Regions from separate parts of the Homo sapiens genome. Here regions 1, 2, 3, 4, 5 and 7 are each linked to region 6. The links are contacts of gene promoters, found by promoter capture Hi-C in human tissues and cell types (Jung and others, 2019). All regions are on one chromosome and are shown on one strand. Each heading gives the region's core, a stretch centred on a gene start or on the middle of the fragment in contact. The rest is flanking DNA. Distances are from core to core; before and after follow the strand shown.

Evidence for each region. The method cuts DNA at HindIII sites, captures the fragments that hold promoters and counts their contacts. A contact is called where the count stands out against the background at its distance.
Region 1: a contact is called between a fragment that was not itself captured here and the fragment with the promoter of PGPEP1L in region 6, in 1 of the 25 tissues and cell types used here (spleen).
Region 2: a fragment that was not itself captured here is called in contact with the fragment with the promoter of PGPEP1L in region 6 in 4 of the 25 tissues and cell types used here (H1 embryonic stem cells, heart left ventricle, mesendoderm cells and 1 more).
Region 3: a fragment that was not itself captured here is called in contact with the fragment with the promoter of PGPEP1L in region 6 in 2 of the 25 tissues and cell types used here (mesendoderm cells and spleen).
Region 4: a fragment that was not itself captured here is called in contact with the fragment with the promoter of PGPEP1L in region 6 in 1 of the 25 tissues and cell types used here (liver).
Region 5: a contact is called between a fragment that was not itself captured here and the fragment with the promoter of PGPEP1L in region 6, in 3 of the 25 tissues and cell types used here (mesenchymal stem cells, mesendoderm cells and spleen).
Region 7: a contact is called between a fragment that was not itself captured here and the fragment with the promoter of PGPEP1L in region 6, in 2 of the 25 tissues and cell types used here (liver and mesenchymal stem cells).

The regions. Positions count from the first base shown.
Region 1 is chr15:98,684,444-98,688,232 of GRCh38, reverse strand. All of the region lies in intron 1 of IGF1R (insulin like growth factor 1 receptor), which reads right to left. Among named protein-coding and RNA genes, the nearest start is that of IRAIN, 36 kb to the right of the region's middle. The HindIII fragment of the contact is 3,139 bases long and covers 692-3,789 here.
Region 2 is chr15:98,553,234-98,556,784 of GRCh38, reverse strand. No RefSeq gene overlaps it. Among named protein-coding and RNA genes, the nearest start is that of IGF1R, 94 kb to the left of the region's middle. The HindIII fragment of the contact is 3,870 bases long and covers 1-3,551 here.
Region 3 is chr15:98,705,232-98,709,131 of GRCh38, reverse strand. IGF1R (insulin like growth factor 1 receptor) reads right to left here. Exons shown (of 21, transcript NM_000875.5): 2 at 1,025-1,570. Among named protein-coding and RNA genes, the nearest start is that of IRAIN, 56 kb to the right of the region's middle. The HindIII fragment of the contact is 3,690 bases long and covers 146-3,835 here.
Region 4 is chr15:98,667,116-98,671,073 of GRCh38, reverse strand. The region is part of intron 1 of IGF1R (insulin like growth factor 1 receptor); the gene reads right to left. Among named protein-coding and RNA genes, the nearest start is that of IRAIN, 18 kb to the right of the region's middle. RefSeq lists enhancers at 1-338, 1,067-1,792, 1,443-2,642. The HindIII fragment of the contact is 8,899 bases long and covers 1-3,958 here.
Region 5 is chr15:98,588,990-98,592,896 of GRCh38, reverse strand. No RefSeq gene overlaps it. Among named protein-coding and RNA genes, the nearest start is that of IGF1R, 58 kb to the left of the region's middle. RefSeq lists an enhancer at 12-511. The HindIII fragment of the contact is 4,989 bases long and covers 1-3,868 here.
Region 6 is chr15:99,005,109-99,009,103 of GRCh38, reverse strand. It overlaps PGPEP1L (pyroglutamyl-peptidase I like), which reads left to right and starts at 1,312. Exons shown (of 5, transcript NM_001167902.2): 1 at 1,312-1,745; 2 at 3,448-3,675. The HindIII fragment of the contact is 12,693 bases long and covers 1-3,995 here.
Region 7 is chr15:98,725,224-98,728,898 of GRCh38, reverse strand. All of the region lies in intron 2 of IGF1R (insulin like growth factor 1 receptor), which reads right to left. Among named protein-coding and RNA genes, the nearest start is that of MIR4714, 57 kb to the left of the region's middle. The HindIII fragment of the contact is 7,726 bases long and covers 1-3,675 here.

The DNA.
Region 1 (3,789 bases), core at 1,012-3,511, 320 kb after region 6:
ACACTATGAACTTGGGCCAGGGCTGGCCAGGGCTGAATCCAAAACCCTGCCCCCTACCCGTGAAACAAGAATCTAGGTTCAGATCACCAGAGAGCACACTGAGAAGCCACCATGTCCTTCCTTCAGTAAGGTGCAGGCAGGCAGGGGGCCTCAATCACTGGGACTCAAACTCCCCGCCCATCAGCCTCTGTTCCATGCTACAAACCACAGAGCACAAGACACCGCTGCAGTTCAGGAGCAAAGCCCCAAGGTAAGTGGCACCAAGTATCCCATTTCCACAGCACTCCAGGACCACTACCAAACAGGGGCTGGCAATCATGAGGAGCCCTGCTTCCAGCAAGGAAGTTAAGTAACTTCGGCCTTCCACTGGAGGCCAGAGATGGCAAAGACAAAAATCTGAAGATAAAAACAGGCAGAGAGCTCTACAGCTGGACACTTTTAAGAGCTTTATTTCTTGCCCCAACTTAACCATTAATTACACAATGACAACCTGGGGATGCTTTGGCTTCTATGCCAAGTCGTGGCTTCTAACACCACCACCTCTCTCTCCCCTGGTTACCACACAGCATCTCGCTGGGGGCTGGACCCTGGTCTAGCCCTCCATAATGCACCCTCCACCCTACTACCAAGGCGGACTTTCCAAACCACAAACCTGACAGTGCCCATTCTTCTGCATTAAGTCCTTCAAAACCTCCCTGTGCCTTCCAGAGAAAAATCCAACCTCCTTGAAATGGCCTAAGACTCTGTGATTTGACCTGTGTCAATACATCCAGTCTCAGCTCCCGATATTCCTTTACTAAGGACGAGACATGGAGCCAACTGAGGTTTCTAAACTCCAAGACACCGAGTACACATGCTTCCCAGCAGCTCCTTCCATCAAAACACCCATCTTCTCTAGGCCAGGCCTTTAACACTCGCCTGGGTGCAGACTCGCCCCTTCACCGCCACAGGACCCCAACTGCACTCATTTCTCTTAAGTTTAGGCACTCGTTTACCTACTGGACTGTGATCCCATGCGCAGCTGGAACTGCACTGTATTTACTGTCCTTCACAAGGGCCAAACCAGCACAGGTCTGAGACACAGCAGGTGCTTAGTAAACACTGGGCAAATGAATGACAAGGAAGTAATCAGTTGCTCTTGTTCACATGCTCCCTCTCTTCCTTCTCCTCCTCCTCCCAAAACCTTTAGGTTTTTTCACATGCTCCCTCTCCTCTCAAAACCTTCAGCTTTTAAGTGAATTCATACCCATAAAAATTTAAATAAGCCAGGTGCAGTGGCTCACGCCTATAATCCCAGCACTTTGGGAGGTTCAGGTGGAAGAACTGCTTGAGGCCAGGACTTCCAGACCAGCCTAGAAAATGTACCAAGACCGCATCTCTACAAAAATTTAAAAATTCACCAGGAGTGATGGCGCAGGAACATAGTCCCATCTATTGAGGAAGCGTAGGTGGGAGCATCACATGAGCCTAGGAGGTTGAGGCTGCAGTGAACTATGCTCACATCACTGCACTCTAGCCTGGACAACAATGTGAGATCCTGTCTCTAAGAAAAAAAAAAAAAATTAAATACTTCATTGATATTTGCTAAAACTCAAAAGTCCCATCAAAACCATAATGAGATACCACCTCACATCCATTAGAATGGATAGCTACTATAAAAAATTTAAAAAAATAAATAAAAATAAACGTTGGCAAGATGTGGAAAAATTGGAATTCTTATGCAGTCTACATGGAAAACAGTACAGTGGTTCCTCAAAAAATTAAAAATAGAACTGCCATATGATCCAGCAATTCCACTTCTGGGTATATACCCAAAAGAACTGAAAGACTTAAGGAAATATTTGCATATCCATGATCACAGTCATATTATTCACAGTAGCCAAAGCGGGGGAGCAACTCAAGTGTCCATCGACAGACAAATGGATAAGCATATATACCACATGGTAATGGACATTATATAAATGTGTTATCACACATACATATATTATTAAATATTATTGGGCCTTAAAAAGGAAGGAGATTCTGGACACATGCTACAGCCTGAATGAACCTTGAGGACATTATGCTCATAAAATGGGCCAGTCACAAAAGGACAAATAGTGTACGAGTCCACTTACATGAGGTATCCAGACAGTCAAATTTACAGACAGAAAGTGGAATGGCGGTTGCCAAAGACTTGGGGAAAAAGGCAATGGGGAGTTGTTTGATGGACATGGAGTTTCAGTTTGGGAAGATGAACAAGTTCTGGAGATGGACAGTGGTGATGGTTGCACAACAATATGAATGTACTTAATGCCACTGAACTCGTACATTTAAAAAAATTCTTTTAAGTAGCCTCAATAGCTGCTGTCTGACACCACCCTTTAAAGTTCAAAATGGTTTCAGACACTGACAGCTGCCACACCACCCAAGGAGGCTGCGGCTCCAAGGCTGGGCAATCAGGCTACCTGCGGTGGAGTGGTGAGCCGCTGATGCCTGGGACCTGCCGCTAGACCTGAATACTGGAAGCACGCTGGTGTTCTTGCACACTCCTGTTCCATCTTCAACAATTATCTGGAGGAAGCACCACCAGGGGCCCAGCCCACAGAGGCATCTTTGGAGGGACCCTGGACAGACAATGAGCAGATATACACATGGTCTGAGCCAGTCGTGGAAAGAGCCACTGGGAAGATACCGAAGGGACACAGAGGAAGAGGTGCCCAGCTGGCTAACAGAGAGTAGAGTGGGCTGGAGGAGACTGATGGAAACCCACTGGGAAGCGGGTGCCCTAGATTATTATTAACCTCCCCAGACTAAGTAAGCAGAAGTTGGAGTCTGTCCTCTAGTAAGTTACAGCCCCAGTAAGAACCCACACAAAGCATGTAAGCATCCAGGCATCTAAAGAACTCAACATCTACCATCCAGCGTGTCCACCCACTTTCCAGGAAGTATGGTGACAGGACTGCAAAGGCAAGCACAGCATCATTCTTCTTCAAAGCCAACAGTTCCAGCCGGGCATGGTGGCTCATGCCTGTAATCCCAGAACTTTGGGAGGCTGGAGGGAGAGGACTGCTTGAGTCCAGGAGTTTGAGTGCAGCCTGGGCAACATAGTGAGACTCCCATCTCTACAAAAAATGTTAAAAATTAGCCAGGCGTGATGGCACACATCTGTGACCCCAGCTACTCAGGAGGCTGAGGCAGGAGGATCCCTTGAGCCTGGGACGTTGAGGCTGCAGTAAGCCATGACCATGCCACTGCATTCCAACTGGGGTTACAGAGCGAGACACTATCTCAAAAATTTAAAAAAAAAAAAAAAAAAAAAAGGAAAAGGAAGAAGAAATATATACATGGAGGGAGCCTACAGTGTGGGGTCAGACTCCTCACAAAGTTTCAAACATTCTGAAGCTCAGGGAGACGAAATAATTTGCCCCAAATCACACTCACTAAATATTAGCGCTGGATAGAATGCAAGCCCAGACTTCCTGAAGCCAAATCCCACATGCGCTCTCTCAGCACACAGTCTCCCGATGACTGCCTTTCTCCTTCTACTCTCTCATCCACAGCAACCCAGTGGCCAAATTTTGCTCCATTTAAAAAGGAAGGAAAGAAAGGTCCCTGTCCTCATCTGGATAAGCTTTAGTTATGTTTGTATAACATTCAGAAAAGGCCATAAAAGATCTTCACTGAGGGCTGTGCTAAGTATTAAGTGTTACTCAATAAACCACAGCATAGAGGTTGCCAACTGACGTTTAGCTATAACCTGGAAAGAGTACTGGCTGAATACATTTTTTTTTCCAATTTCAATTTCTA
Region 2 (3,551 bases), core at 466-2,965, 450 kb after region 6:
TACTAAGAAAAGGTGTCCCTGATGGAACAGTCTTCCTGAAGAAAACCAGGGACATTCAAACCAGTGTGTCCTCAAACCACTCAACAGAGTTGCATTGCCACTAAAAAAGAATCCTCCATCTGTGTTTACATGTGGAATTAGTCACAGCCAAAAAAGATGGTTATAGTATCAAGTGAGGCTGGGGCACCCTTTGGATTTGTAAATTGCTGAATTGCATTTGAAAAACTTCATTCAAGGAGTGCAATTGGTAATATGGAGATACTTTCTGCGGGGAATCAAGGAGACTTCCTCAAAAAGTGCCATGTCATACAGTGTGTGCTTTTGAGCACCATCTCATCTGGTATTTGGGACATAACAGAAATCTGAGCTCTATTCTATGAGTGTCAATGTCTAGTTGAAAACAACAGAGTAAAACAAAATATCTATCAAGCTAGTTATTAAAAACCAACACACGACCGGGCGTGGTGGCTCAAGACTGTAATCCCAGCACTTTGGGAGGCTGAGGCAGGCGGATCACCTGAGGTCGGGAGTTTGAGACCAGCCTGACCAACATGGAGAAACCCCATCTCCACTAAAAAATAAAAATAAAAAAATTAAATAAAAAAAAATAAATTACAAAAATTAGCCGGGCATGATAGCACATGCCTGTAATCCCAGCTACTCGGGAGCCTGAGGCAGGAGAATCGCTTGAACCTGGGTGGCAGAAGTTGTGGTGAGCCGAGATCGTGCCATTACACTCCAACCTGGGCGACAAGAGCGAGACTCCGTCTCAAAACAAAAAACAAAAAACAAAAACACACGCTTATAGGTTCTCCATCGTCTGCCCCAACAAACTTGAAGAATACCTTTTTTTTTTTTTTCCCCTCAGACAGAGTCTTGCTCTGTCGCCCAGGCTGGAGTGCAGTGGCACGATCTTGGCTCACTGCAACCTCTGCTTCCCACGTTCAAGCAATTCTCCTTCCTCAGCCTCCCGAGTAGCTGGGATTACAGGTGCCTGCCACCATGTTCGGCTAATTTTTGTATTTTTAGTAGAGATGGGGTTTCACCATGTTAGCCAGGCTGGTCTGAACTCCTGATCTCAAGTGATCCACCTGCCCCGGCCTCCCAAAGTGCTGAGATTACAGGTGTGAGCCACTGTGCCAGGCCAGCAAACTTGAATACTTCTTATTCAGGACTCTAACAATGGCTTACTCTGCAGGGTGGGGGAGATGAAGGGAACTCAACTCTTGAGGGGGCGTGGGACAGATATGCAGTCTGACAAAGCCTCCTGGATGATTCTTGTACACTGTCCTGGGGGATCATGACTCTCCACAACCCCCCACACCTTCCCCATCAGAGAATCACTGCACTCATCATTTTATTGAATTTACACTTTAAAAGGTGGATCTGACAGAAATGAAATCAGTGACTCCTTGGAGCTCAGGGTGGGAGGAACTTGGCTGCAAATGGGCACAGTGGAGCTTTCTGGGACAGTGGAAGTCTTCCAACACTGGGTAATGGTGAGGGTTGCACAACTGTATGTTACTAAAACTTGTCCAACTGTACACTTAAAATGGGTGTATTTTATGGTATCTAAATTATATCCCATCAAAGCTGCTAAAAAAAATGGGTCAACCTAATCTGTATGTGTAGATACAATGCCCAAACCACGCTCACTTTCTCCACCCACCTTCTCCAGAATCCCTGTTATCTCAATGGAAGGTGTCACATCCACCCAGATGCCTGGGTGTCTGCCATCATTAATCTCTTTACACCTATGTATCACCTACATCTCACCTACTTCTGACCAGTTCTGCCTCTCTAATATCTCTGGAATCTGCTCACATCTCCCTATCCCTGATTCCACCACCTAGTTCAGGCTGTCATAGTTTCTTTCGAAAGACTGTGAGTGCCTCCTAATGATGGGCCTGCTCTCACCTCCCAGTGCCTTTCCCTCCACCTCAATGATAACACTCCTTCAACCACTCGCCATGGTCCTGAGGACAGAACTTCAGCTCCCCTGCAGGGCACAGTTTACAAGACCTCCCACAACCCAGCATCTGTTTATTTTCCCAGCCTTATCACTTGGCAAACCAAATTGACTTACTTATCTATTCTGTGAAACAAGATAAGCTTTCCTTCTCTCCCTTGCTCAGGCAGCCTTCTCCCCACACTCAATCACTAGGGCAGAAACAGTTGGTCGCTTCCCAGTAGTTCCCCTTCTTCTTCAGTAAGGACACTGACTTCTATAATACCTGGACACCTTGCCATGCAGTCAAAGACCTCATACCCTAGCCTTCCTTGCAGCTATGTAGAACAATGTGATATGTTTTGGTCAATGAGGAAAGTATGGCACATCAAAAGGCCTCCTTAAAAGGCGAGGGCTTCTCTTCCTTCCCTTCTATGTTTATGCTGCCTGGAATGAGGCTGTTGCAGCTGGAGCTCCTGCAACCATCTTAGACCAAGAGGTCATGTGGAGATGGAGCCACACCTGGCAGTGCAACAAGATGGCAGGACCTTATGTTGCCGATGCACAGAGAGCCTCAAATCACGTCTGGTCTTTATATGTGAAAGAAATGAGCTTCTACCTTGTTTCAGCAATTATTCATTTAGGTCTTGGCTATTTGTAAACAAGCAAGATCTTAACTTACATAGAGTGTTTTCAAGCACTTTTTTTTTTTTGAGACAGAGTCTTACTCCGTTGCCCAGGCTGGAGTACAGTGGTGCAATCTTGGCTCACTGCAACCTCCACCTCCCAGGTTCAAGTGATTCTCATGCCTCAGCCTCCTGAACAGCTAGGATTACAGGCATGCGCCACCACACCCGGCTAATTTTTATGTGTGTGTGTGTGTGTGTGTGTGTGTGTGTGTGTGTGTGTGTGTGTGTGTTTAAGAGACAAATGTTTCACCATGTTGGCCAGGCTGGTCTTGAACTCCTGGCCTCAAGTGATCTGCCTGCCTCAGTCTCCCAAAGTGCTGGGATTACAGGTGTGCACCACCACACCTGGCCTCAAGCACCATTTAAACTGATTGGCCTATTCTGTCTGCCTAACTCCCGTTTTTCCTGTAATGCTCAGCCGAGGTGTTGCTTGCACTCGGAAGCCATTCTGGCCTTCCAGAGGCAGTTCAGTTGTCCCTCTCCTCTGGCTTCCATAGCCCCTGGCCCTTCTTATTATGCTCCATTAAGGATAAAGTCTGTCCATATTTTGGCACCATCACCAGATTCCCACAAAAAAGGCCCTTCTCTGACTTCCCTCTGTATGCCCAGCACCAGGAATTGGGGCTGGCACAATGGGTTCTCAGTGTGTTTGCTAGATAAGGAAATGTGTTTAACACCCAAGCATTAACCCAAGAGGAACAATCTCACTGCAACTTTGAAAGGGCACCAAGAGAGCAATTATTTCAATTTTATATCAACTCCGCCTCCTAGAAGGGATCTGTAAACGACAGGTCTGGATATATTACATACATCAATAATTGTCAGAGAAACAATCAAAATCTCACTTGCAATCTCAAGAAGCGTGAGCCATGCTCTTGAATTTGTAAAAGGTTAGATAAATCAAAATCTTTCTC
Region 3 (3,900 bases), core at 741-3,240, 300 kb after region 6:
GCCAACACTTAAATAATAGCTATTTATAGCTAACACACTGACTTCAAACCAGTGAGGAAAAGCTTCCTAGCCAATATACATAACTATTGCTGAATGCAATAAGGTGAAGGCTCAGAGTCACATTTTAATACCAAACAGCCTGGTTCTTAAGGAACTGATCACATGAAGGCAAGAGCTCAGTTATTCTCAAGGGAAAATAAGCATATTGCAGATAAATATACAAGAAGCTTCAAAATACCACCATCTGACCCCCAGAACAGTAAATACTTTCCAAAGTTCCTTCACTCGTGAAATCTTAAGATTTTCACAACTGTTCAGTAAACAGGTATAAAAGAACGAAAACAGAATCCCAGAGGTTTAAAAATGCACCCTGCTACACAGCTACCTGCAAGTACAGCCTGAACCTGGGACTTGCAGAAATGGGTCCAGAGGTCTCCCACCTGGGCCAGGTGCTCTGTCATAACCAGGACACCTGAGTATCATAACATCATCACTAGGACCTAAGGACCACTTTCACAGGATATGAGTTAGTGCTTTACCTTCCCTTTATTTAACCATATTCCAAGTCCATTCAAACTAAGGAAGTCCTGCAGAACAAAAAATATCACTTCGCACAAAGGATGAAAGAGCTGACACATAAGCAGCCCCCAGCTGCCAAGGCTCAGGGACTTCCAAGCACACCAGGTCACCTTTCTCATCAGGAATTCAAAGCTGAAGGTCAGCAAGTGTCTAGCCCAGGAGTGTGCTGGATTATTTCTAACATGTGATTTGAACAGTCTTGACAGCAGCCATGATGGCCTCCAGCCACGCCACAGTCCCGCAATCCAAGAGTCCCAGATGCAAAGGAAAGCCAACCAAGACCCCCACTGGGAACCACTTCCGCACAGCAGGCATGCCACGTCCTAAATGCAACACGACTGCACCCTGCCCAGCGGAACTCGTGCACTCAGAAGAGAAGGGAGGTCAAGGAGGAGGAGAGGAGAGAGAGAGGCAGAGAGAAAGCAGCAGTCAGCATCATTCTTACTTTTCTGGCAGCGGTTTGTGGTCCAGCAGCGGTAGTTGTACTCATTGTTGATGGTGGTCTTCTCACACATCGGCTTCTCCTCCATGGTCCCTGGACACAGGTCCCCACATTCCTTTGGGGGCTTATTCCCCACAATGTAGTTATTGGACACCGCATCCAGGATCAGGGACCAGTCCACAGTGGAGAGGTAACAGAGGTCAGCATTTTTCTCAATCCTGATGGCCCCCCGAGTAATGTTCCTCAGGTTGTAAAGCCCAATATCCTTGAGATTGGTCATCTCGAAGATGACCAGGGCGTAGTTGTAGAAGAGTTTCCAGCCGCGGATGACCGTGAGGTTGGGGAAGAGGTCTCCGAGGCTCTCGAGGCCAGCCACTCGGAACAGCAGCAAGTACTCGGTAATGACCGTGAGCTTGGGGAAGCGGTAGCTGCGGTAGTCCTCGGCCTTGGAGATGAGCAGGATGTGGAGGTAGCCCTCGATCACCGTGCAGTTCTCCAGGCGCTTCAGCTGCTGATAGTCGTTGCGGATGTCGATGCCTGGCCCGCAGACTGAAGGGAGACAAGAGGGTAAACGTCTCAGTTAGAAGGAAATAATTTTTAAACTATTTTCCAAACAATAATACAGTTGGTTTTCAGGAATCCTGTATTATTATTAAAGAAATGAGGTTCAATTGTTCACTGCAGAGCTGTGGGTTGCAGACTGACAGTTTAGGTGGCTAACCAGTTAGCTGGCATTTATACAGTGCCAACACTGGACCAGACGCTGTGCAACACACTCCAACCGACCATGGGAGAGGCCATCCCCGTTAACCGTGCAAACTAAAGCTTACAGCCCAGAGGCACACAGAGGCAGAGGCGAAAGTTAAATCTGCAACCCAGGCCAGCCGGACTCCACCACCGCACACTCCTGGTCCGTTCTGCAGAGCGTCAGTTGCCAAGGCCTGAACGACAGCTCAGCAGCCAAGTATCAATAACTTACTACTGCACCCTGCCTGAAGGACACAGGGCAATCAATCTACTCTACACTGGAGAACCGTCACTGTGACTTGTAAAGTGGGGACTAAAAAACGCATGCTTCCATGCTTCCCACTACCATTTGACATAAGCCGAGTAGACTGTGTTCTCTCCACACGTGCATTAATGTAGACATAAAGGATAACCTAACAAGATTAAAAACGTGATTTTTTTATGAATAAAAGCAGCATAAACTCCAACTTTAAGTTTTATTGATCAAGAAAGCATGCTTCCTACAGAGTTTAGAGGTAATAACCAAAAAAAAAAAACCAGTAAAAATCATCAACGATCTCAACATTCCACGATAAACAATGTTAACACTATCTATGCCAATTATCCACTCTCTATAAATGAAGGTAAGTGAAATCAGACAAAAATGACATTTGTAAACACACTTCCTTCACTTAATATTTTACTAGGTCAATACATGTCCTTCTACATCACCATTTTAAGGGGACAGTAGTTCCAGAGTATTAATACACACCATGAGGGTTGTTTTTTTTTTTTAACCAATCCCTTATTGTTGGACATTTAGGTTAGCTCCTGTTTTGCACATTATAAACAACACTCCAGTGAACATTATTGGCAGATACCCAAGACTATTTTCTTAGGATAAATCCCTAGAAGTGGAAGTGCTGGGCCAACGCATTTGCAGATTTTAAAGGCTTTTCATAAAATGGCCTCAATACTGGATGACTTATTTTCTAAATTCTAAGCACAGACACACACCAAGAAAACTCTTTGTGATAACCTTTTTTAGGATTTAATAATCCCAAGTACACTATTAAAGCTTCTCAGATAGAGTGAAGTTTTCTGACTGATGTAATTAATTTGGGAAGCACCCAACATGTATGATACCACGAGAAATGCCAACAGGCAGTGCCCTGCCCTCTGAGGAGGCTCATGGTGAAGGCAAAGAGCTAAGACCCATGAGGAACAACTGTCACATGAGGCAGGTGGTCAGTGGTGTGCACACAGCGAGTCCACTCTAGATGTGAATGGAATTAAGCAGGACAGACAAGAGGTGGTGTCCAAGCTTTGTGCCACCGTGCTAAGGGGAGCTCTGCACACAGGCCGGCTCCCAAAGGGTGCCTAGGATTTAAAGCTCGGTAAATATCCCACAGGCCAGAGACAATGCAGAACAAGGTATGCCCATGTGCCAGCAGATCTGATGGTCAGGGTGAAGAGGGGAGCAGTTGAGGAAATGAATTTGATAGCACCCAAGTCATAAAGGATCACATGTGGGGATAAGAACTTTCATCTCAGAGGAATAAAGCCCCCACAAGGCTCCTGAGCGGGAGAGAAGCCCATGTGAGGCCTTTTGCAGGATTAATCTGGTGGCCCAGTGCAGGACGGAATAAGTGAACAGACGAGGGAGAGAAGAAAAGTCCCACTGGGCATTACATTACAATCAAAGACAGAAACTGAGCAGAGATAGCGAAGAGAAGAGGAAGTGGAGGGACCCAAGGGCTGAGGAGTGGGCAAAGCTTGAGAACTTAGAATGTGAAACTTCATATCATCTAATTCTTCTGTTTTACCAAAGAGAAAATGACACCCCTAAGACAGAGAAAAGAATAGCAGAAACCAGCACTTGGCAAACACCCATTTTAAAGGTGAGGAAACAGATTTGGGGAAGTCAAGTCACTTATACACAGTCACATACATTAGATTTCAGCCCCTACATAGCAAAACTTGACACAAGGCTTGTCAATAGTCCCACCTCTCAGCACCCTCACCTCCTGGTTACCTTTAACCCACTCCGACTGAGCTTCTGTCCCCATTATGACACCGAATAGCTCCTAGCAGAGCCCTCAGTGACACTGTCGAAGTGTCACTTGACCTTCCAGTCACCTGGCATTGCCTCC
Region 4 (3,958 bases), core at 545-3,044, 340 kb after region 6:
GAGACACCAAACAAATGCCCGCACACAGGAGTCTACTATGTGGATCGAGGGAAAAGAGGGCACCTTTATCCTTCCAAATATGACAACTCAATAGAAAACTTCTCATTCCAAAGTCCTAAGGGTCCCTACAACAGGAAGCTACTGGAGCTTGTGAAATATTTCCAGTTATTTTCTACAGAAATTAAACATATCAATTCTACCGGCAGGTCATGTGAGATGACAGGTTTAAAAATGTATGTTGATTGGGGGAGAAAAGCAAAGAAAAAAAATAGAAGAAAATAAAGTCATTTCCTGTGTCAGTTGTAATTTGGGAGGCTTTTTTCCAGTGCCCTTCTAAGTAAATCTGCCATAATCAAATGTAGTCAAATATAACTGCAATGTGCAAAAGCACAGTGATGACCTGAGAGGAAGGTGCCACTAAGAACCCCTGGGACCAGTCTTCTATCTCTTCCATCAGACATCCACTACTACCTCCCCAAAAAGGCTCAGGGTTATTTCATAAACACCAGTAGCCTCCCATGTATTTAACTTAGCACAAATAAGAGAACCAATATGTAAGGGATTTTTTTTGCTCTTAAGAACCAACCATTCCTCTTACCCCAGCCTTTACAGACCTGGAAAACCATCCCTGATTTGCCCCCAGCCTCATCCCCCACTACAACTTAAACAAACCTTCCTCTCCAGCCTTGCTTCCAGCCCCAAAATACATTTTTAAAGTTCTGATGCCAAGACCACCCCATCAAGTCTAGTATAATCCTTCTGATCATCTAAGTACCCTCCTCCAGGAGACCTCCAAGATCCCTCTGGGCAAAATGATCTCTTCCTCCAATTCCAGGGCTCTTTCCCAGTGTGCTCACTCCATCCTCACTCATAAAAGCATCTGGTTCCATTCCACAGCTGGGCACACCTTATCTTCTCAAGAGACAATGTAAGCTCTTTTTAAAACAGGGGCTGCATTTTACACACCTCACATACCTCCTGCAGGTCCCCGAACATCCAAACACTCCAAATTTGTCTCTGTCTCCAAATCCTACAAAACCAAATTCTCTCTACCCAGCTCAGCTCAGCATCCCTGGGGCCCCGATCTACCTCATCTGCCTCCTCTGCTCTAGAGTAAAAGCAACACCAGTCACCCCCACTCTGCCGCCCACTGTAGCCGAATCCAAGTGGCACTCTCAGCCCATGCTCTTATCAGTGCACTGGGGGCAGGCCTACCATCTACCAAGCACCAGAAATGCCCCTCCGAGCTTTGTGCAGCCCCCTTGCCAGGCAGACAGCCTCCAGGGCCAGGTTCGGCACGGGAAGCTAGAACACGGGGCTGACTGCACAGCCTGGGGCAGACACACCTCAGCTTCCACACCCACCTGACAAGGCTGCCCAGAGGATGGAGGGAAGTCAGTGTTTCACCCACTGCCCTAATGGGAAGACAGTGTTTCTCACCCACTGCTCAAGCCTGGAAGCAAAAGGTCCCAATGTTCCTACTCGATGACCCGCCCTGTCATGCCCTGTCCAGATATCTAACCCTCACCTTTCTCTGTCCATCAAGCAGTAAGAATTCATAGCAGCCAGCACATATGACCCTGAGGGCAACGTTCTAACAAAGCCAAAGAAAAGGTGGCACACTGGCCTTCAATTCAAAGCCCAGGGTGGCAAGAAAAGGGTCACTAGTTCCCTGAAAATAACTGGCATGCAAAATTCAAACAGGTAATTGGGGTGGAGTTCATGGAAAAGGGAAGAGAAAACCTCACATGGGTTTGTATACCCTTCATTTAAGCACACTGTCTTCAGGCAGCAGAGGTTTCAAGGTGCATGCTAAACACCCTTGCGCAGGTTTCAGAGAGCAGATAAAAGGGGCTAACCAGGCTCTCAGGAAGCCCAATCCGCACACGCACGGAGCCGAGCCAGTGGAAACCATAAGCCTGTCTCATCTGTCTCTAAACTGCTCACAGGATGAACAGGAAGGCTTGATCGATACTGATTTTACAGTCATAGGAGTGACTCATCACGAAATTCTACCCAGCTTAAAGCTCAGCTGTGAACAGAAACAAAACAACATAATGGCAGGGTCAGATTTAAAATAGTAAGTATGACTGGTAAACAGTTAATGCTCATAAACAATTAACAATCACCTTCCCAGCCTCCTGGATTTGCTGGGAGAGGAAAAAGTACTACTGAGGGCTCTGAAGCGGGCTGCAGCAGTAAGTCTGTCTTCTGTGGCAGCCCCTTCCAACTCACTGATGCTGGTGTCAGCTTTACAAAACAGACCCTGGAGGGTCACGAGGAGCTGCTTTTAATAGAATTCCACACATCTGATGGGTACGTGCTCACTGAGGAGGGGAGAGAGGAGGAATGTACTTACATGGAACAGAGTTTTCAGAGAGTGAAATTTAAGCTCTCCTGGAGTATAACTTCCTCTATGTAGCTCCTGCAGAGTTTAAAATAAGCAACTTATCTGTCCTAAAATGAGAGAAATGGGGTCATATAAAATTTCTCAATAATTGAGTTCCTCTCAAACTGCATTCACTTTAAGGAAAGCACTGGGGTGCTCAGAAGGTGCACTACACATTTCAGGCATTTGGTTACAGAGGCGAATGTGCTCAGCGCCATCCTGAAGACATGTACTTTCAAGTACTGGATTCCATGTAAATTTTAATGATCTGTAACCAACTCTCAGACCTGGCCAAGAACTTCCATAGAGAATCCTGGTCTGGAGATCCCTTCACTATGGCACACTGCTCCACTGTTCTGAACTGCATGACTGTGTCCCCTCCAATTCATATACTGAAGCCCCAACCCCCAGATACCTTCAGTGGTATCTGAAGGTGGGGCCTTAGGGAGGTAATCAGGTTTAGATGAGGTCCTGAGGGTAGAGCCCCCATAATGGCAACAATGCCCTTACATAAAGAGGAAGAGACCAGAGCCCCTTGCTCTCTCCACCCTGTGAGGACACATGACATTTGTCATCTGCAAGCCAAGAAATGGACCCTTAACAGAAACCAAATTTGGTCGGCACCTTGATCTCAGACTTCCAGCCTCCAGAACTGTGAGAAACATAAGTCTGTGGTTTTAGCCCTCAGTCTATAGTAACCTGTCACAGCAGTCTGAGCTAAGACATCCATACAGCCCCGTAAGAGAACCAACCCAGGGACGAGCAACACCTCTCATCATCTGACACCACCTCCTGCCTGACGACCAGGCAAAACAAGCACATACACAAACAAGCAAAAGGGGAGGATGAGAGTGGTCATTCGGGTTTGCTTTGGAGGTCCAGAGAAAATGCAAGTCCAACTTCCAGGCACAGACCAGTTGCCCGCAGCAGGCTTCCTCCCATTGGTCTCAGACCAAGGTGAGCCACTCCCCCGGGCGGGACAGAGAAAGCTCCTCTGGAAGCCAGACAAGCTCGGCCACCTCGAAGTCTTCTTTGGAATCCAGCAGGTCCAGGCCTGAGCCCTGGCGCCTGGTTAAACCAAAGGATGACAACCAAGCAGAAAAAAATAGCCCCAGAGAGTATCTGCTGGAGAGGCAGACAGGCGGACCTGGCCTTCGACACACAGCATGCGTGCCATGGTCTCTAGCAGCGCGTCCCTCCAAGCTTCCTGGCCTGTAAGGCGAAGCCTCTAGCCCTTTTCTACTTTTAGGATGCTCAGATTCTTGCCTGCAGAGGTCAATCCCTTTCTTTCAAGGGCTCCCCCCTCTGTAATGAGGCAGTCCATTTACAATAAAAAAAAAATTGAGCTGTCAAAACAAATGAAAAACTTCCAGTATAATCATAATCAGTGAGGGAATCAAACATCTAAACAAATCTCTCTTCTGGAAAAATAAGAAAATGAAAAAGCAATTACACGTCACATGGCTGATTAGCAATAAATTTCATTTGTGACTACGGTGGCATGAGTTTGACTCCTGACTTGCTTTCCTTGAAAGAAAAAAATTATCTGCAATACTGTCTCTTGATATA
Region 5 (3,907 bases), core at 125-2,624, 420 kb after region 6:
ATCCAGGTGCAGGAGCGATTGAGCCTAACTAACTTCCTTTGGTTTTCTTTTTGTTTTTTTTCCCCGAGAGGAGTCTCACTCTTATCACCCAGGCTGGAGTGCAGTGGCGCGATCTCAGCTCACTGCAACGCCTGCCTCCCAGTTTCAAGCAATTCTCCTGCCTCAGCCTCCCAAGTAGCTGGGATTACAGGCACCCGCCACCACACCCGGCTAATTTTTGTATTTTTAGTAGAGACGGGGTTTCACCATGTTGGCCAGGCAGGTCTCAAACTCCTGACCTCGTGATCTGCCTGCCTCGGCCTCCCAAAGTGCTGGGATTACAGGCGTGAGCCACTGCACCCAGCCCTGTTGTTGTTTCTTTTACAATGTGGGCATAGAAAAGCTAAAAACAGAGCTGGGAAATCAAATAGAACTTTCAACTGTCCAACCCTTTCTCATGAAGCTCAAGGGGCTGGCAGGGAGAGTGGAGGTGGGGAAATGGAGTGACCAAGTCAGACAGCCTTTAAGGAGGGGCTTGTGGAGGCGGAGCGGGCCGTGGTCGGTCAGGTGAGCGGGACTGGCCTTGCAGACTTGAGCTAGTGCCGTGTAGAGCGGGGATGCTGGCATCAGCTGGCTCTTGAGGCAGCTCCTCCGCTGCCTTGCTCGTCTCACCTGGGGCTCTCTACATCTGCCTCGCTAGCTTGCCACAAGGTGGACCATAGATGGGGCGGGGGGGGTGGGACACAGGGAGAGAAGGAAGTCTTTTAAACCAAATTGAGGCGGGTGGCCTAACCTGTTCCCTACTATGGTGTGTCTGTCACCTCCGGGTGGCTCATGTTGACTGTCATCTTTCTGAGGGAACCATGCGACCTGCAAATGTGCAGGCAGGTGACAGAGCCTAGAGAACGGTGGGCATCTTCACACCTTCCCTCCAGGCAGGGCTGTATGGGAACCGCCTGGAGAGCGGAGCACGAGCCTTCCCCACCTCATTGTATTTAGCATCAAGAAGGTTTCTCATTCATTTTTTAAAAATGTTTCAAGACTATCATTGCAGGCAAACCAAAGAAGGGAGTGTTTCAAAACTATTTTACATAACATATACTATGGTCACCCTGAAATTAGTAAATCCTGTTTCACCCTGGCTTTATTGGGAGACAATCTATTAAGCATTGCTGTCAAGGAGTACACGGTGCCTCCTCCAAACAGATAAGAACGTTAACATTTCCCGTGTCAACTCCTCCGCAAGGATCGTGGCAATTCTTTCCTTCAGGGCTTCACCCCCTACAACAACAGCAAAAGGCAGTCCTGTTTCCTGGGCTTCATCTATGACGAGAGAGAGAAAGTGGCATCCTCTTGGAGGGACCTGTTGGGTTCGTGGCTCAGGAGATATGTGGGCTAGACAGACTTGAAGGGGAAAAGATACAGGCGTGCTTTCTGGGAGACAAACACAGGAGAAAGCAGAAAAGAACAGGGGTAAGTGACAGCAAAAACCAAACCAGGGCCAAGAGTTGGACAGGTTCTGAGACAGAAAGGGTTGAATCAGGAGAACTCTTCCGTGTGTTAATGGCTAAAATATTTGACTTTAGAAACAGTAAGAGTTATTTCCTTCTAGAGCAGTTGTTAACAGCTTCCCCAGAAAGACCCACTGGTTTGGAGAATCACAACGTAGTTGTAAAGCTTAGCAAGGAGGATCTGAGGGCTCCGCAACAGGGGGCAGCTCTGAGCTTTTCCAGACAATGGTTTTCTTGGACCTATTCCATGGCTTGGGAAAAAAGGAAGAAGCAAGAGAAACCCAAGGTGGGTGTGGAGGCACACAGCCTCTGGCGGCCACAATGAATGAGGACATGAAGCTAGAATGCAAGCTTCCTATACATATAAAACCCCAAGGATTGGGAAAATACACACTTGGAAGGGGGGAGCTTTTCTTCTGGTTCTATGTAAGCACAGTGGCTGGGTGTGGTGGTTCCTGCCTGTAATCCCAGCAATTTGGGAGGCAGAGGTGAGAGGATCTCTTGAGGCCAGGAGTTCAAGATCAGCCTAGGAAACATAGCAACATAGCAACACTCTGTTTCTACAAAAAATTAAACAATTAGTCAGTGTGGTGGCACACGCCTGTAGTCCCAGCTACTCATGAGGCCGAGAGAGGAGGACCACTTGAGCCAGGGAGTTTGAGGGTGTCGTGAGCTATTGGTCACACCACTGCACCCCAGCCTGGGCCACAGAGTAAGACCCTGTCTCAGGAAAAAAAAATCTAAACACAATACCAGCTGAGGAAAGAGGGAAGTCTATACAGAAGGAGAAAAATGTTTTAGACAACATGTGCTTTTTGAAGCTTGATGCTTTTATATGTGGTAACAAGATCAGAATTTTGTTCTAGAGAATCTGAAAGAGCTTCTCTGAACATCTACTGAGACCAGGAGAAGCAGGGCCATACCTGGAGCTTCCAACTGTTCAGAAGCATTTGGGTTGTTCCAAGGGTGAAAGGACCCTTCAGCTCCATTAAATATGTCATTAGGATCCCTGAAAGATACAGGACCAGTGGGGATGATATTCACTTGAATATTTTACTTTTTCATTTTTTATTTATTCGAGATGGAGTCTTGCTCTGTCACCCAGGCTAGAGCACAATGGCATGATCTCGGCTCACTGCAACTTCTCCCTCCTGGGTTCAAGCGATTCTCCTGCCTCAGCCTCCCAAGTAGCTGGGGTTATAGATGCCTGTCACCATGCTCGGCTAATTTTTGTATTTTTAGTGGAGACGGTTTCACCATGTTGGCCAGGCTGGTCTCAAACTCCTGACCTCAAGTGATCCACCCGCCTCGACCTCCCAAAGTGCTGGGATTAGAGGCATGAGCCACCATGTCCAGCCCACTTGAATATTTTAAGTGAGCATTTTTTGCTGTTTCCCAGCCATATATATCTTATATTCATCTTCTGAGAGGTAAGATGTTGTTTTAACTCAAGTTAGAAGGTATAATCCCAAAACAATGTGACTTTTTAAAATTTAAACTTTTTGTTTTGAAAAAATTGTAGATTCATATGCAATTGTAAGAACTAATACTGAGAAACCCCATGTACACTTTACTCTTTTCTCCAGTGGTAACCTCTTGCAAAATTGTAATAAAATATCACAATGAAATTATTAACATTGATGCAATCCAAGATATTGTTCAGATTTCCCCCTTGTTACTTGTACTCACTTGCGTGTGTATTTAGCTCTCTACAGTTTGATCCTATGTGTAGGTATGAGATTTTAGCACCTCAGCTCCATCATCCATCACTGTTCTTTTACAGCCTCCCCGACTTCTCTCCCACCCTTCCCTTCCTCCTTTACTTCTGGCAATCACCAATCTGTTCTCCATTTCTATAATTTTGTCATTTCAAGAATGATATGGAAATAGAATCCTATAGAATATGACCTTTGGGGATTGGCTTTTTCACTCAGCATAATTTCCTTGAGATTCATCCAAGTCATTGCAGGTATCATTACTTCCTTCATCTTTATTGCTAAATATTATTCTAACATGTGAATATACCATTGTTTGCTTAACCATTCACCCTAAAATACAACTTTTAAGAGTAAAATATGCTGAATTTTAAAAATCAAACGTATTTTTGAAATCTCCTGATGCTTTTTTCTTTTTTTTGAGACAGAGTTTCTCTCTGTCACACAAGCTGGAGTGCAGTGGCGCGATCTCAGCTCAGTGCAACCTCTGCCTCCTGGGTTCAAGCGATCCTCCTGCCTCAGCCTCCCGAGTGACTGAGATTACAGGCATGCACTGTCATGCCTGGCTCATTTTTTTGTATTTTTAGTGGAGATAGGGGGTCTTGCCATGTTGGCCAGGCTGGTCTTGAACACTTGGCCTTAAGTGATCCACCTGCCTCAGCCTCCCAAAGTGCTGGGATTACAGGCATGAGCCACGGTGCC
Region 6 (3,995 bases), core at 63-2,562:
TGGATCACGAGGTCAGGAGTTCAAGACCAGCCTGGCCAAGATGGTCAAACTCTGTCTCTACTAAAAATACAAAAAATAGCCAGGGCTGGTGGCAGGTGCCTGTAATCCCAGCTACTCCGGAGGCTGAGGGAGAGAACTGCTTGAACCTGGGAGGCGGAGGCTGCAGTGAGCCGAGATCGCGCCACTGCACTCCAGCCTGGGCAACAGAGCGAGACTACATCTGAAAAAAAAAAAAAAAGAAGAAGTGGGCATTTCTTAATGGTCCAATCTCTTCCTTTAACTGTGCAGAGGAAGCCAAGCCCCCACTGAGAGGTGACAACATGCTGGTAGGCCTCGCAGCCGTCACTCACTCTCGGCTCCTCTGCCTGGGCTCCCACTTTAACGGCACTTGAGGAGCCCTTCAGCCCGCCGCTGCACTGTGGGAGCCCCTTCCTGGGCTGGCCAAAGCCAGAGCCGGCTCCCTCAGCTTGCGGGGAGGTGTGGAGGGAGAGACGCGGGCGGGAACCGGGGCTGCACGCCGCGCTTGCGCGCCAGTGCGAGTTCCGGGTGGGCGTGGGCTCGGCGGGCCCCGCACTCCAAGCAGCCAGCCCGCCCCGCCGGCCACGGGCAGTGAGGGGCTTAGCACCTGGGCCAGCAGCTGTTAGTGCTCGACTTCTCGCGGGGCCTTAGCTGCCTCCGTGCGGGGCATGGCTCGGGACCTGCAGCCCGCCATACCTGAGCCTCCTCCCCCGCGTCATGGGCTCCTGCGCGGCCTGAGCCTCCCCCACGAGTGCCGCCCCCTGCTCCACAGGACCCAGTCCCATCGACCACCCAACGGCTGAGGAGTGCAGGCGCACTGCACAGGACTGGCAGGCAGCTCCACCTGCGGCCCTGGTGCGGGATCCACTGGGTGAAGCCAGCTGGGCTTCTGAGTCTGGAAGGGACTTGGAGAACCTTTATGTTTAACTAAGGGATTGTAAATACACCAATGGGCACTCTGTATCTAGCTCAAGGTTTGTAAACACACCAATCAGCACCCTGTGTCTAGCTCAGGGTTTGTGAATGCACCAATCGACGCTCTGTATCTAGCTACTCTGGTGGGGACTTGGAGAACCTTTGTGTCCACACTCTGTATCTAGCTAATCTAGTGGGGACGTGGAGAACTTTTGTGTCCAGCTCCAGGATTGTAAACGCACCCATCAGCACCCTGTCAAAACGGACCAATCAGCTCTCTGTAAAACAGACCAATCGGCTCTCTGTAAAATGGACCAATCAGCAGGATGTGGGTGGGGCCAGATAAGAGAATAAAAGCAGGCTGCCCCAGGTAGCAGTAGCAACTTGCTGGAGTCGCCTTCTGTGCTGTGGAAGTTTTGTTGTTTTGCTTGTTTGCAATAACCGTTGCTGCTGCTTACTGTTTGGGTCCGCACTGCCTTTATGAGCTGTAACGCTCACCGTGAAGGTCTGCAGCTTCGTTCTTAAAGCCAGCCACATCACGGACCCACCGGGAGAAACGAATAACTCCAAACACGCCACCTTAAGAGCCGTAGCACTCATGATGAAGGTCCGTAGCTTCACTCCTGAAGTCAGCGAGATCACGAATCTGCCAGAAGGAAGAAACTCCGAACACATGCGAGCATCAGAAGAAACAAACTTGGGACACGCTGCCTTTAAAAACTGTAACACTCACCGCCAGGGTCCGCGGCTTCGTTCTTGAAGTCAGTGAGACCAAGAATCCGCCGATTCTGGACACACCATGACGGAACTAGGTAAGTGATAGGAGCTAGGAGAGCTGCTCACCAGAGGAGGTAGAGACCAAGTCTACAAGTGCATCCGGGGTATATTGAGAAACCGGGTAACTTCTGTGAAATGAGGCAAAGTACAAAAATCCTCTGCATCCCACTCATGGCAAGGTGGGCCCAGCTTCTCAGGACAGGGAGTGGGAGACTAGTGGGAGCAAATGGCGCTTCCCACCTGTTGGCAGTGAAGAGGCCTGCAGCCCACACCAGGAGCTAATTAAAGGGAATTGTTCCTGGTTCAGAATCCCAGAAAGCCACCAAGGGGGGTCTAATCCGCGGGGGTGATCCCAATTAAAAGGGAGCGCTTTATATCAGGAGGACAATTCAGCAGATGGAGCCACGTGGTCCTGCTGTCACACTGAGCTCTCTAGAGGCCGCAGGGTGCTTGAGAGGCTCTGCCTGCTTCCCTGAAGGGAGCTTCTCCTCCCCAGACCTAGATGGGGACAGAGAATCATGGGTCTTCTTCCTCTTAATATACAGCTTCAGGAAAAAAGTATTTTCAGTTTAAAAAAAAGTTTAAGAATATTTTTAGAGACAGGGTCTCACTCTGTCACCCAGGGTGGAGTGCAGAGGTGCAGTTACGACTGACGGCTCAAGTGATCCTCCCGCTTCAGCCTCCCTGAGAAGCCAGGACTATGGGCATATACCACGTTTTGAAAAAAATAATTGATGCAGTCTTGCCACGTTGCCCAGGTTGATCTTGAACTCCTGGCCTCAGGCTATCCTCCTACCTTGGCCTCTCAAAATGCTGAAATTAAAGGCGTGAGCCAGTGCACCTGGCCAAAAGTTTGTTTTGTTTTTAAATAGAATTCTCCGAAAGATCAAGATATTGGAAAACAGCTTTTTCGATAGAGGAAATAGCCTCAAATGTTAGCCTTTTTCAGTTATTCTGACACATTAAAAAGAGGACTGTCTGCAGAGCCAGGTGGCATGCCACGGCTGTGGCTCACTGTCAGTGGCATGTTTAAGGAGTCCAGCACAGTGTCAAGAAAGCACTTTTCGCAGGTAGAACGCAGGGTGGTGAGCACAGAGCTAGCAAGCTTGCACAGACGCTAGCTAGGTGGCAAGCCTCTGTTCCTCAGGGCTGATGAAGCTGGGGACAGTGCCTGGGGCACAGAAAGAATCCATACAGGATCCGGTGCTGCGATCCTCGTTTCTCAAAACAGGAAACCTGAGCACAGAGGTTAACTTCCCTGAGGACCCACAGCTCCTAGGCAGCGGTGCTTGCAATCAATATTTTAAAGGCAGGCGCCATAAGATTCATCTATGGTTTTCTCTCTTTTTTTTCTGCTCACATCTCACATATTTTGTGGAATTAGTTTTCAGAGCAATCAAATTTTACCAAATCATAATGGCCAAACACAATGAGGGGCTCTGGCAGGGATTACTAAAGAGGAAAAAATAAGATCTAAGTAAACGACTTGTAGGGTAGCCCACAGTTCCTAGGACAGTACCTCTTTGAGCACCATGTGGTGTTCCGTCCCAGACATCCTTCTGTCCCAGGCAAACCGGGACAGCTGGTAGCCAAACCCTTAGCTCACCTTTGAACCATCCTGAACAACAAAGTGACCCAGACTCAAATGTCCAGAAAGTCCCTGCTGGCGCTCCAACCCGCTGTCCTGAGCTGGATCGTTCTGCTTTCAAGGGGCATTGCTTTATCACCCTCCCCTAGATCCTTGGCCTTTCGGGGCCCAGAACGCTACGGACGCCGGGCGGCCAGGAGGGGTTGGGCTCCCGCTCCACCCCGGTCCCCGGCGAGCACGCGGCCAGGCAGAGAAGGTGCCCGGAGCTCAGAGCGCGCAGAGCCCGGCCGCTGGGCCGCTGCCTGAGCCAGGGAGGCGCAGCGCGAGCTCCCACTTCGTCTTCATGGATTCCCAGCCCAGCTGCGTGGTGGTGACTGGTAAGACTACATAATTTTTTTCTCTCCTATTTGTTGCTGCTTTTAGCCTGCCCCTGGAATGCGCACTGGCCTGATCCTGGGTCTTAAATAGTTCCCTGAGGGAAAAAAAGAATGGCAACTGGTGGTGCTAATAATTCCAGATGGAAACGAACTTGCTGCTGTGCCCTATTAATAAACAATCAGGATCACAGGCATTTCTGCTTCTGTGGCTCATTCGCTTCAAGTAACTCTCGAGTGGCGGGCACGAAGGTGCCACTGGTGGCTTAGGCTCAGACCTTGCCTTTCAACCCAGCAGGGAGGAAGCTGAGGCTGGTACCTGT
Region 7 (3,675 bases), core at 178-2,677, 280 kb after region 6:
AGCCAAGAGGTAGCACAGCCAAGATTTTAAGCCAGATCTGTCTGATTCTACTACCACCTACTACAAAGAGCTTTCTTGTCATAGGATAAAGGTGCTGGCTTCTCCACCAGAGGAAAGGAAGCCACTTAAAAACTTACAGAGAGGGTGATCACCAAAGGCCACCAGCTGGCCTCGGGAGAGTGCAGAATGCACTCCCAGAGCTAGGATGAAGAAGCGATGGGGGCCTGACCCCGCCCAGGCGGCCCTGGGCATCAGCATAGGCACCTCACTGGGTTCACAATGGCTCAGAACATGCTCACCTGCTTGAGCTCAGCCTCTTGAACGTCTGCTGCTAATAGCCGCTCTTCAAGCAAAGCACATGTCATGAGACCTATTCAAATACAACTGAGTGGGACCCTGAAACTGGGGCTGGCAATGGTGGGAGCACTAAGTCAGGCCCTCTTGCTGGGAGGTGATGTGAAGAGGGCCACTTCTCATCCCTGCTCTGCTGTCCCCTTAACCGGGGTCTTGAGCAGTGGAGGAGGAGCTCAGGCCCCTCCAGTCAAAGACAGTCCAGGCTGAGTCTAGACAACCCGACCATTCTCATCCCCACCCAGCCCGGCCAGCCTTTCACAGACAGGCACCGGGATCTGTGATGGCCAGCGGCAACAACAGGCGTGATTTCTCCTAGGACACATCACTTTTCACCAAGAAGCCCATCTTGAATAGCTGGGGGTGTGTTTACAGATCCAGGAAAGCTCAGAGCAAAAATACTTAGTTAAAAAGCAAGTTAAAAAATGCATCTTCAGGGCAACCCGCTTGGGTCCCTTTCCATGCTGTGGAAGCTTTGTTCTTTCACTCTTCACAATAAATCTTGCTGCTGCTCGCTTAAAAAAAAAAAAAAAAAAAAAACAATGCATCTTCAGTGAGTACAGTGGCTACCTCGTGTTCCTTTTTTATTTGATGGGAAATAAAGGGGAAGAGAGATTTACTTTGAGTCGGCAGGCCAGATCTGCAACAGGGACTGGAGAACTTTCCAGGCCCAGCAGCCCCGGCCTGGCCCGCATTCCTTCGGGGTGACAGCGCACCAGGGCCGGCCGGCGGTTTCCCCAGTCCTTCTGCCGCCGCCACACAGTGACTAAGCCCACAGGAATCCCAGCGGGTGCTGGACCCACCCGGAGGACAAGCAGGCCGAGAGGAAAGCCTGTGACTGCCCCGACCAGCAGAAGAAGACCTGCTCTCTGCCCTCCAGCCCCTGGGTATAATGCAGGAGAAGCTGGGGAGGCTGTCCAAGGCAGGAGCAGCCCCACCTGAGCTCAGGTGACAGCCCATCTCACTTGCAAGGCCTTGCAGAGACACCCAAGCCCCATACTCAGGACTGACTTTGCTGAGGAATCAGAGAGCAGAGTTTCAGGGTGCACCTTTATCTCCCTGAGAAAGACTCCCAGTAAAAGTCGGTTGTTTGCCCAAAGGAGGCAGAATTAAACTACGGGCAGGCAACCACAAGTTTGCTTTGACAAATAAAACAAGAAAAAAAAAATGTAAACCTACACTGGCCCAATCACTTTCCAAGAGCCTAATTCATGGTAAAACCAGCAGTCCAAGATCTGATTTTGATAAATCACTTCCTGACTCTTCATATATTTTACTCTCTGTACGACTGTTATTTTTATTTTGCAAAAGAATTAAAAGTTTACTGGAAACCACATACCTTTCTTCCTTTACGACAACCTGTCATTCATCACAGCTAAAACATCCACCCATTAAATGATATTTTTACAAGATTAAAGAATGGTTTTAAAAAGAAAGAAATCTCCTTAGTTAAAAATGAACCAAACAAAGGTACCTAATCACTGATCAGCATCAAAGTTTTGTTCCACACATGAAAATAATTCATCAGGCCAGGTGTGGCGGCTCACACCTAGAATCCCAGCACTTTGGGAGGCCAAGGTGGGTGGATCACCTGAGGTCAGGAGTTCGAGACCTGCCTGGCCAACATGGTGAAACCCCATCTCTACTAAAAATACAAAAAATTAGCCGGGCATGGTGACAGATGCCTGTAATCCCAGCTACTCAGGAGGCTGAGGCAGGAGAATTGCCTGAACCCGGGAGGCGGAAGTTGCAGTGAGCCAAGATCACACCATTGCACTCCAGCCGGGGTGACAAGAGCAAGACTCTATCTCAAAAAAAAAAAAAAAAAAAAAAAATCATCAATGTAAAAATGAATTCTGCCTAAGGAGGGGAATTTAAAAAGTCAGAGAAAAGCAAGGAATTAAAATTCAGAAACAAGCTGTTTTATAATTAAGCATCTGCAATTTAACTATACTATGTCACTCTGATTTTCATCTTTCCTTTCTCATAAGAGTCATAGATGTTCTCCGCTCATATAAAGGTGGTAGGAAGGGAGGGAGGGCGCCATGCTAATAGAACCCACATCATGTTTACTAAGAACTAGGCAGATGTGGACAAAAACTCCAAAGATTTAAAAGTTTCTTGACTAGAGCAAGACATCTTCAAGAACTCATCCAACATGGTGCCTAGCCTTCTTCAGAGCAAGACAAGCCACTAAGTCATCCCTGGGTGTGTGTTCAGCAGCAGCCCACTAGGAAGTATTAGGTGAGCTACGATGGGAGAGTAATGGGCAGGAAAATCATAGGAAAGCAGGTCTGGATTTGGGCTGGCTGCTTAGCTGCATGGCACCTTGCACAAGTTATAATCAGGTCTCTTGCCTCCATTTCCTCTTCCACAAAAAATGGAACAGTAATATCCATATCCACCCTACAGACTGTGCAAAGATTAAAGAATACTGGCGAGGTGCCTGGCACCTAGTCATTGTTCAGTGAATGCCAGTCATGATCACGAACACAGTCCTTGCTAAGAGGGTGATATGATTTGGCTGTGTCCCCGCCCAAATCTCAACTTGAATTGTGTCTCCCAGAATTTTCATGTGTTATGGGAAGGACCCAGGTGAGGTAATTGAATCATGAGGGCTGGTCTTTCCCGTGCTATTCTCATGATAGTGAATAAGTCTGACGAGATCTGATGGGTTTATCAGGGTTTCCACTTTTGCTTCTTCCACATTTTCTCTTGCTGCCACCATGTAAGAAGTACCTTTTGCCTCCTGCCATGATTCTGAGGCCTCCCCAGCCATGTGGAATTGTAAGTCCAATTAAAACCTCTTTTTCTTCACAGTCTTGGGTACGTCTTTATCAGCAGCATGAAAACAGACTAATACAGAGGGTAATCACCACAGGAATCCAGACGGGGAGTGGGGTCAGTTCACTGGTACAAGGATCTTGATCAAAGGAACTCATTTCCCACCTGATCCCTATTCACTCCAGGGTCCACATCTAGGAGTCCCAAAGACCGGCATGCATGGGTTGGGTCAACAGGCTGCCTGGAGGTTTACCTCATTCCAGGAGTTGGAGAAGCACTGTGGGAGGAACTGGGGTTCAAATCTGCAAACCTCCAAAACATAGGAGGGATCTTCTAAAAGTTTCTGAGAGTTCTAACCACAGATTAGGGGAAAAAAAAGATGCCCTTTCATCAACATGGGATGAAATGCTAGGATTTAGACATGGTTTTTTTGTGTGTTTTTGTTTTTGTTTTTTTCCAATTCAGAAAACACTAAATCATGTAAAAATCTTGGAAGAGGAGATACAGATTCTGACCTAATAAGATGCTACTGCTCTGATT